Regions from separate parts of the Homo sapiens genome. Here all the other regions are linked to region 1. The links are contacts of gene promoters, found by promoter capture Hi-C in blood cells and fetal thymus (Javierre and others, 2016). All regions are on one chromosome and are shown on one strand. The core of a region is centred on a gene start or on the middle of the fragment in contact, and the rest is flanking DNA. Distances in the headings are between cores, read along the strand shown. Region 1 holds the start of SLC25A40 (solute carrier family 25 member 40). Region 2 overlaps TP53TG1 (TP53 target 1). Region 3 overlaps CROT (carnitine O-octanoyltransferase).

Region 1 (3,342 bases), core at 381-2,880:
ATTATACAATATTACAGAATAAAAATCCTTACAACCCTACCAGTTTAAGTTATTAGCATTGAAATGTATTTCTTTGTAGTACTACTTAGGATAGAGGCAAAATGCCCTATATACTTTCACAGACCGCATATTGTAAAATAATAGTTGACTCAGCAAGAAATATTCGTGTGTTTATTCCTGAGGCACGGAACTATATAAAACTCTTTTGAAAGATTTTCTTTTTTTAGGATGTAAACTCCATGGGGATATTTAATACTCAACTATTTATTGAGCATCTGCCATTCTGCTGAACATTCAAAACTGGTGTTTAAACTTCATTTAGCGATGAAAGAATCCTCTGTTACGCAGAATAACCTAGTCCTCAAGGGTTTCAGACTGCTCAAGTTTTAGTTTCATATAAAGTTTGTCTGCATATTAACAACTAAACGGTCCATTTCACATACAATTTGTCTACGTATTAAGAACTTAACGGTCCATTACGAAGAACTAAACCTTTCATTATTTTCATTAGAAACAGATCTGAGATCCAAGCAACTGCTTTAAAAATTAATTTTTCAAACGCAATCTGTTCTTAAATTGGTAGTTACTACACACACACAAACACCTGTACAAAAAACTTAGGTGCTGGAATGTTTCACCAAATAAAGTGACTGAAAATGGAAATTTGCTTTTGTTTCCCTGTTTGTAATGTTGAAACCAGCAATGGGGTGTTTGAAATACAATGCTTTCCCCCAACTTATGAGGAAAGGAAAATAAACTTTCAAGGGTAAGACCAAAAATCCACCCACAATCACTCAATCTAATCCTGAAGCGAAAAGCCACGAGCGCGTCTGACTTTAAATTGAGGATGCAGTCCGTCGCCTCCAAGGGCCCGGGCGGAGGCTTAGCATATGCGAGAGCCCGGGAGCAGACAGCGCCGCAGTCCCGGCGAGGTCCCGGATCTGCACATTGTTTGCTAGTTTTCAACCGAAGGCACGACCGGGAATCAATCTGGGACCGCCGCTGTAAACGGCAGAGCGCTCGAGGGGCCGGGTCAGGATCCGTTCCTTCTTAGGCAAAACACTGAACGGGGGCTCCTTCCTTCAGACCCCAGAGGCCGGTCAGAAGAAAAGAAGCTGAGGACCCGGCGGGAGAAGTCTGAAGAATCAATGGTGGAACCACGAGGGGAGGAAAGGATTAAAGGGACTGCAGGCGGAGGAGGGGCTTCTTACCCTGGAAATGTCCTTTACTGTGGATCCTCATGGCTCCGGAGTTCATGGCAGTCGCCCGGCACCTACATGCTGGGTCCGGAGAAAGTGTCGCACCGGGCAGCCGCGAAAGCACGGCTTCCCCCGGCCTGTTGACAGGACGGCCGCCTCTCTCCTTCCGCCAGCTACGGCCTCTACGCAGTAGAGGTACCGCGTCTGCAGGTCGGGTTTCCGGGGCCGGATCCGGCTCCAAGGCGCGGAGGAGGAAGGCGCAAAGCACAAACGAGTGGGCTGCGGCGGTTGAAGATTTGAAAACGCGTCACGCGGCCGCGGCGCCGATACGCGCGCCCCGCCCCGTCTCACGCCACGCGCCGTGCCCCGCCTCGCGCTCGCCCCTCGTGCCTGCCTTCTCGCGCTGCGCGCCCCGCCCCCTCACGCCGCCGTCCTTCTCGCGCCTCGCTCTGGCCCTGCAGGTTGTGTTTCCGCCTCTACCCCGCCTCCATTCCGTTGCTCTCTCAGTCTCAGACCCGGGCTCTCGGTCCGCCGCTTCAGGTCTTGGCGCAGCCTCAGAGAGTTGGCGCGGCTCTGTGTTGACCAAACCTAGTGGATGCAGTTAGCGCCGGAGCCCGGCCCCGCCCGTCACCAGGGTTATTCCCGCCTTCTAGGTTTGCCAGGACTGCCGGCCCTGCAGCTGCCTTCTGCCCCAGGTATGCTAATTTTCCACTGGTCGGACGTCTGGGAAGCTGAAGGCGAGGGGCTTTGGCTGAGTCCGGACTCAGCTCTGGCCGGGCCCGGGGCCGGGGCCGGAACCGGAGCCGGACAGCGGCGGCAGCCGCAGCCCCTGCTCAGCGCGCCCTGGGTCGCACAGCAAGCGGGGTTTTCCCGCGGTCACTGCCGACCCCACCGGCTGAGGACAGCTGCAGAGGGACGTGCGGGAGTGAGGGCGGCCCCGGGGGGCGTCTGAGGGAGGGTCTGGCCAGGCGGCCCCGGCCTTGACGGCAGCGCCACCGCAGAACGCCTCCAGGTCACTTTGTGTCCTTGGGTAGTTGGCTATTTGCGCTGTCCTGTTGACTTTTATTGTATTCAGACCTGTTTTCTTTTAGTTGAGTGTAAGTTTATTTCAACAATGAAGGAGTGGAAAGTAACATCTCATTTTTTTTTCCTGTAAAACAGAGATTAAAGATCAAATTAAAATGCTTGTGAATATATTTTAATTTTATAAGTTGGAACATGCCTCTCCAAAAAAAAAAAAAAATCTGTTTCTTCAGGAGGAAGAGGATATTTTGAACTATTTTGCATTCCTCTACTCCAGGCCATAATAGGCACTCCTGTAGTGGTTGATTTTTTTACCTGGTAGCTCAAGGAAGTCAGAGTATCAGCGTTACGGTTTTGCAGGTAGGTACCTTAAAGAATAGACAAGGGTGGGTTGTGACAAGATTAGCTGGAGAACGCAGAGAACAGGTTTGCTAAGGGAAATGAGAGTTTGGTTTTAGACAGGTTTATGTTGAAGGGCCTGGGGCGACAGTCATGGAACTATGCTTATTAGACAGTTAAAGATGTTTATGACTCGAGAGAAATGTCTAGCAGAAGTGGACATGGGAAGAGGAAATAGAGATTGATTTGATATCTCTCCAATAAAATATTTCTGCATCAAGGTCTATTGATGTCAATCATGGGGCAATTCATTAGAGGTTAACAGATCTTGAGTGGTGGAAGGAAGTGTAGTTTGAACAAACATATTCAATATTGTAATTTCTATGGGAAAAAACTTATTTTCAAAATATAAGCTACAGAGAGCACAAAATGTTTATATTTACAGAAAGATTTAAAAAGTTGGGAAGCACTAATATAGAATGTAGTTAAAGCTTTGGGAGGAAATGAAATTGCCAAGGAGAGCATGTGAAATAAGAGAATTGATTATAAGCGTCGTTGATGAAATAGTGAAAGAGATGGAGAAAATGCCACAGAATTGGGAAGAGACTGCAAACATTGGAATCATATGGGCTTCACTAACTACTTGGCCTCTGGGTAATTTTGAGCCCCAATTTTAATCTATTAAAAGGGGGTAGTACTTCTCAGGGATGTTGTGAAGATTAAATGAACATTTTTGAATGCTTAGTACAGTGCCTGGCACAGAGTAGAGCTCCTTAAGAGC
Region 2 (3,342 bases), core at 416-2,915, 540 kb after region 1:
ACTTTCTCAATTAAAAAAGTAAAATTCTTTGGAGTTTATCAAATCTTGTTTATTACTATTTGAGTTGTTAATTCTGTAAAGTTGTTAATTCTGTAACAATACAGCCACCAAAAAGAACAAGATCATGTCCAAGATCATGTCCTTTGCAGGGACATGGATAGAGCTGGAGGCCATTATCCTTAGCAAACTAACACAGGAACAGAAAACCAAATACTGCATGTTCTCACTTATAAGTGGGAGCTAAATGATGAGAACATATGGACACATAGAGGGGAACAACACATACTGGGACCTTTTGGAGAATGGCGGGGGGTGGCAGGGGGAGGATCAGGAATAATAACTAATGATATTAGGCTTAATACCTGTGTGATGAAATAATCTCTACAACAAACCCACATGACACAAGTTTACCCATGTAACATACCTGAACATGTACCCCTGAACTTAAAATAAAAGCATAAAAAAGTTACTATAATGCATATTTCCTTATTTTATGGTTGAAATGGCAAATAATGATGTGATTTCCCTCCAGGTCACACACTGGCAGAGCTGAGTTTGGAAACAGTTTTATTACTTAATTGCTTCTTTTCAAAAACATTTTAGAGGCAGGGCCTTGCTCTGTCACCAGGCTAGAATGCAGTGGCACAAACATAGCTCACTGCAGCCTTGAACTTCTGGCTCAAGTGATCCTCTCACCTCAGCCTCTTGAGTAGCTAGGACTATAGGCATGTGCCACCATACCTAGTTAATTTAAAAAAAAATTGTAGAGACGTGGTCTACGTCATCCACACTGTTCTTGAATCCCTAGACTTAAGCAATCCTCCCACCTCAGCCTCCCAAGGAGCTGAGATTACTGGCATGAGCCACTATGTCTGGCTAGATTACTTCTTAAATTACACAATGCCCAACCCAGAACAGCAATAATTGTGTGTTTGTACATTGTACTATGTATCCATAAGCAATCTTTGTTCAGATGTATGACAGTGAGAATGAGCGTTGGGAAAGCTATAACAACAGGCGGAAGCCTAGTACCTGGCACCAGGAACCAGATAAACACCATGGTAGTGCTTTGGAACACCGAAATTTGGTAGCTCCTGAGGAAAAAAGGAGTAATAGTATACAGAACCATAAGTGTTTTCAGAAAATATGAAATCAATGAGTTGTATCATATTTGTGGTAAGTGAAACCTAGACTTTGGAAATGACATTCAGGCATTAGGAATATTAGTAGTTCTAGATAAATGTCACAAGCCCATAAGCAAGTGAAAGTTTTTGTCCTGGTTAAATACCCTAATATAGTACATTTTAATTTTCCTGTTTGTTCACCCATTCAACAATAATTACTGTTGCCATCATGGTACTAAGTGCAGGAAATAAATTAAGAGAATAAGACTGATATGCTTTCTAGTCTCATGGAACTCACAGGCTAGACAGGGAGATAGCCATTAAAAATTGAAATACACTAATTTAAAATCAAAATGTTTAACATGCTCTTCCATCTATTTCAAGGACACTTCCCACCATCTCCACCTGGCAACACTTATTTATCCTTCAGATCTCAGCTTATATATTATCTCTTTAGTCTTCCTTTACCACCAAATATAAATTAATATTTTATTTCACCTAACAAACATTTTTAAATGACTTTTACCCAAAAGAAAGGCAATAACCAATGCTGGCAAGGATGTGGAGAAAATGGAACTCTTGTACCTTGTTTGTGGGAATGTCAATTAGTACAGCCACAATGGAGAATAGTATGGAGGTTCCTCAAATTAAAAACAGAAATACCATATGATCCAGCAATCTCACTGCTAGGTATATACTCAAAAGAAAGGAAATCAGTATATCAAAGAGATGTCTGCATCCAATGTTTATTGCAGCACTATTCACAATAGCTAAGATTTGGAAGCAACTTAAATTGCTTCCTAAGTGCCCATCAACAGATGAATGGATTGAAAAATGTGGTACACAATGAAGTACTATTTAGCCATAAAAAAGAATAGGATCCCATCATCTGCAACAACACGGATGGAATTGGAATTGGAGGTCATTATGTTAAGGGAAATAAGCCTGGCACAGAAAGACAAACTTCCCATATTTTCACTTATTCATGGGAGCTGAAAATTATAACAGTTGAACTTATGGAGATAGAAAGTAGAAGGATGGTTATCAGAGGCAGGTAAGGGTAGTAGGGGTGAGGGAGTAGTGGGGATGGTTAATGGGTACAAACACAGATAGGATGAATAATATCTAGTATTTGATAACACAACAAGGTTACTACAGTCAACAAATAATATATCGTACATTAAAAAATAAGAGTATAATTGGAATGTTTGTAACACAAAAAAATGATAAATGCTTGAGGTGATGGATACCCCAGTTACCCCGATGTAATTTTTAGGCGTTGAATGCCTGTATCAAAATTTCTCATGTATGCTATAAATTATATGCACCTACCCACAAAAATTAAAAATAAAAAAATACGTACACAGTGGGAAAATATATATTTTCTAATGATATATAAAATAAGACAGGGGTCTCCAACCCCAAAGCCATGGACCAGTATCTGTCCATGGCCCATTAGGACCTTGGCCACACTGCAGGAGGTAAGCAGTGGAGCAAGTATTACTGCCTGAGCTCTGCCTCGTGGCAGAACAGTGGTTGTTTTAGATTCTTACAGGAGTGCAAACCCTATTGTGAACTGTGCATGCAAGGGGTCTAGGTTGTGCACTCCTTATGAGAGAGAATCTAATGCCTGATGATCTGAGGTGGAGCAGTTTCATCCTGAAACCATCCTCCCCAGCCCCGACCCATGGAAAAATTGTCTTCCACGAAACCAGTTCTTGGTTCCCACAAGGTTGAGGACCACTGAAATAAGGCTCTAATATCTAGAATATATGAAAAGAAACTCTTACAAATCAACAGCAAAAATACAAATAACCTGATTATAAAAATTGGCAAAGGACTTGAAAAGACATTTCTCTAAAGAAGATAGACAAATGTCCAACAAGCAGATGACAGATGAGCAATGTCATTTGTCACTAAGGGACTGCAAATCCAAACCACAATGAGATACTGCTTCATACCTAGGATGGGTATTAGAAAAAGTAAAGTAAGTGTTAGAGAGGATGGTCTAGTTATAGATGTGAAGAAATTGGAATCCTTATATATTGCTGGTGGGAAGTAAAATGGTGCAGCTTCTATGGAAAAAATGGGCAATTCCTCAAAATGTTAATGTAGAATGTATGGCCCAGCAATTCCACTCCTAGGTCTGTACACTCAAGGAATTCAACAGGCACTCATACAAATACTTGTACAGAAATATCCACTGCAGTACTAGTCA
Region 3 (3,342 bases), core at 442-2,941, 520 kb after region 1:
TTGCTTTTTTGAGGTCTGAGATAATTCTTTCCTTCAGCTTTCTCATCAACTTTTTTTTTCTCCAGTTCTAATTTTACTGTTGTTATGAGCTAATGCTAAAATATTTTATCTTGAAGGTCTAGAAAAGCAATGTTTACCTCTAGTATAACTTGATTCTGTACTTTTGGCTTTTAAAATACATCTAAATTGTCAATGTAATCAAAAAACTAATGCTGTTCCTAAGAGTGAGGTAATCCTATGCTATAATCATAACCTTGAATATACTCTTCCTAGGTCCAGTTAAATCCAAGCACTTTTTTCATCAGGTTTGATGTCCAGGTTATCTAAATGGGCTTCCCATAAGCAGAAGTAGTCACACTGCAGAATTTTTCTTTGCCTTTTTGGTAACTGTCTTAAGAAACAAGATTGTATAATTCCTATGCTGTCTTTATTAGGTTTTTTTGGTTGCCAAAACTAAGATTTAAAAGGCTTAAGGTTTTTACATCATGTAACCTTCTGTATTGCTTCTAAAGCATTTTCATTATCACTTTGGCTAAATGAGTAACTATTATTTTACAATGACCTCTGCTTCTGTTTTGATCAAATGTTTTCAGCCTTTTAACATGTTTAATAAACAGCCTCAAAATCAAAATCCTAAATTAAGTCTCTGACTTAGTCTTATTGCTGGGATTTATTAAAGTTATAAAAATTAATCACTACAAGACTGTAGAATCTTTTTACAGCTTTTAGTCACACCATGAACTCCATTATCACCATAATATAGTTTGGATGTCCCCTCCAAATCTCATGTTGAAATGTAACGCCCAGTGTTGGAGGTGGGGCCTGGTGGGAGGTGGCTGGATCATGGGAGCAGAGCCCTCAAGAATGGCTTGGGCTGTCCCCTTGGTGACAAGTGAGCCCTCACTCTGATTCACACCAGATCTGGTTGTTTAAAAGTGTGTGGCACCTCTTCCTCACTGTCACTCTCTCTTTCTTGCTCTTGTTGTCACCATGTGAAGTGCCTGCTCCTGCTTCACCTTCTGCCATGATTGTAAGGTTCCTGAGGACTTTCCAGAAGCCGATACCAGCACTATGCTTCCTGTATAGCCTGCAGAACTGTGAGCCAATTAAACTTCTTTTTTGAAAATAAATTACCCAGCCTCAGGTATTTCTTTATATCAATGCAAAAATGGCCTAACACATACCACCTCCACCCTGATAATTATATATACTAGAAAAGAATCAGTTAAAGGGCCAGGCGTAGTGGCTCACACCTGTAATCCCAGCATGTTGGGAACTGGAGGCAGGCGGATCACTTGAGGTCAGGAGTTTGAGACTAGCCTGGCCAACTTGACAAAACCCCATCTCTACTAAAACTACAAAAAGTTAGCTGGGCATGGTGGTGCATGACTGTAATCCCAGCTACTCAGGATGCTAAGTTGGGAGAATTGCTTAAACCCAGGGAGCAGAGGTTGCAGTGAGCTGAGATTGCACCAATGCACTCCAGCCTGGGCAACGGAACGAGACCATGTTTCAAAAAAAAAAGAAAAATAAAAGAAAAAAAATCCGTTAAAGGACTCCCTCTAGTTCCTTAAAAGGGTCCTTATCAAGTGCTATTAACTAATCCTTGTGCCTTACAGTTACAGGGCTTTGACTCCTGAGTACATATAGCTCATCTAAAGAAGGCACTGACTCCTGCCAGTATCTGATAGCAAGCTGAAGCTAATCAAAGCCTTGTCTTTAGACCTGGACAATCAAAGTAAACTATTTTCATGAGACCTACAGACAGAGACATAGGGACAGGCCTGTATTCAAAACATTAAGATTCATTTAATAATTTTGCCTATATCTGAATATAATTTTCTATGCCTTGATATTAAATAATTTAAGTATTTGGCTACGTATGGGCTTCTTTTCATGTCATTCTCATAACTAGGTAGGGCTTATGACATTTTTGTTTAAAACATTAATTCCTTATGTTTTGTTTTCCTCTATAATTTGAAACTATTTAGTCCTTCCAGGCCCAGAGACTACCACATGAGATTGTAAGGGCTTGTTGTGGGGAATAAAATCAATTCAGACCCTCCAAATCAAGGTCAGGCAAACTGCCTCTATAGCTGAACAAAATGTTGTATTTTATATGGCTAATTGCTACAAGTCAAGATTAAAATAGCTTAATGTATAGAATTTATAAATAAGCAAATTTTATAACCGTCCCATTTGGCTTTTGGCTCTTATGTTGCTTAAAAGGGGTTTTAAGGTTAAGGAGTGCCTGCCCACCTCCATTCCCATCTGGCCTAGAAAGTTTAATTGGCCATAAGTCTTTTGTTTAAGTCCCTTGGCCATAGTGGTCCCACCAAGGGACATGATGGATCCAGGGCAGGTAGCACACCACCCTGACATCAATACTGGACAAAATAAGAGCTTGGCCATTGATGGCATACCTTAACAAAAAAAAGGGGAACTATAAACTAAAATAAATAAGTTTTTAAAAGTTCTAAGCCCTTTCCCAACAAAATGGACCCTCTTCTTGGCCAAAGGGCATCCAAAACACCTGAAAACTAATTCAGGCCATGAGGGGAAGCAGGGAGATTGGACATGACTTGCCATATCTTTCCTCTTCTTGGAATTCAGTCACAACTGACTAGCTTAGCATTAAAATAGAAATCATAAGATTGACAAAACAGACTCTTTATGGCAATAAAATACCAAATTATAAATAGAATCTAAGATCACGTAAGGCAAGGGTTAAGTCTCTATTGCAGGGTAAACAGTCATATGTTACATGCACGTTTGTTCAATATTCATGTGTCAGAACCACCTCCATAAATATTCATAACTCTGCTGTTCAACCAGGTGACTTAGTCATATTAAAGACTTGGAAAGAAGGACCTCCTATAGACAACTTTCTCCAAAGTGGAGAGGACCCTATCAAGTGCTTCTAAGTACCTCTAGTGGAGTAAGGGAATACACACTTGGGTACATTCATCCAAAATTAAACCTGCCTCTCATAAAGTCCCACAGGCATTCAACGTGGTGACCACTGTTCCAGCACACTCTTGTGAGCCAATAAAGAATCCTGTGGCTTCTCTTCAAAAAAAGAATCCATCCAGTGGATAAGTACTACTCTCAAAATGAAATTACTAGTTTTAATATTAAACTTGATCTATTATAATATTAGAGCTAATTTGTTTACAGAATGGGCACAAACTACGGCCTCCCTTCTAAACCAGAAAAACTGTTGGGTACGCAGTGAATTACCTCTTTCATCAACCTCAGGCTTACCTTGGCATATCAAATAGGCTAATTTAAGCCATTCCAATTCCAATGAATGGTTTATAAGAGATAAATGCTTTCCTTTCC

What was found. The method cuts DNA at HindIII sites, captures the fragments that hold promoters and counts their contacts. A CHiCAGO score of 5 or more calls a contact.
Region 2: a contact is called between a fragment that was not itself captured here and the fragment with the promoter of SLC25A40 in region 1, in 4 of 17 cell types (neutrophils, naive CD8 T cells, naive CD4 T cells and 1 more). The highest score is 10.5, in neutrophils.
Region 3: a contact is called between a fragment that was not itself captured here and the fragment with the promoter of SLC25A40 in region 1, in 9 of 17 cell types (non-activated CD4 T cells, fetal thymus, monocytes and 6 more). The highest score is 9.4, in non-activated CD4 T cells.

What each region holds. Positions count from the first base shown.
Region 1 is chr7:87,874,648-87,877,989 of GRCh38, reverse strand. SLC25A40 (solute carrier family 25 member 40) reads left to right here and starts at 1,630. Exons shown (of 12, transcript NM_018843.4): 1 at 1,630-1,894. It overlaps DBF4 (DBF4-CDC7 kinase regulatory subunit), which reads right to left and starts at 1,497. Exons shown (of 12, transcript NM_006716.4): 1 at 1,212-1,497. The coding sequence starts at 1,257. RefSeq lists enhancers at 1,218-1,337, 1,525-2,034 and silencers at 1,398-1,657, 1,788-2,237. The HindIII fragment of the contact is 3,397 bases long and covers 1-3,054 here.
Region 2 is chr7:87,333,854-87,337,195 of GRCh38, reverse strand. All of the region lies in intron 2 of TP53TG1 (TP53 target 1), which reads left to right. Among named protein-coding and RNA genes, the nearest start is that of TP53TG1, 10 kb to the left of the region's middle. The HindIII fragment of the contact is 9,846 bases long and covers 1-3,342 here.
Region 3 is chr7:87,351,338-87,354,679 of GRCh38, reverse strand. The region is part of intron 3 of CROT (carnitine O-octanoyltransferase); the gene reads right to left. Among named protein-coding and RNA genes, the nearest start is that of CROT, 7.3 kb to the right of the region's middle. The HindIII fragment of the contact is 7,253 bases long and covers 1-3,342 here.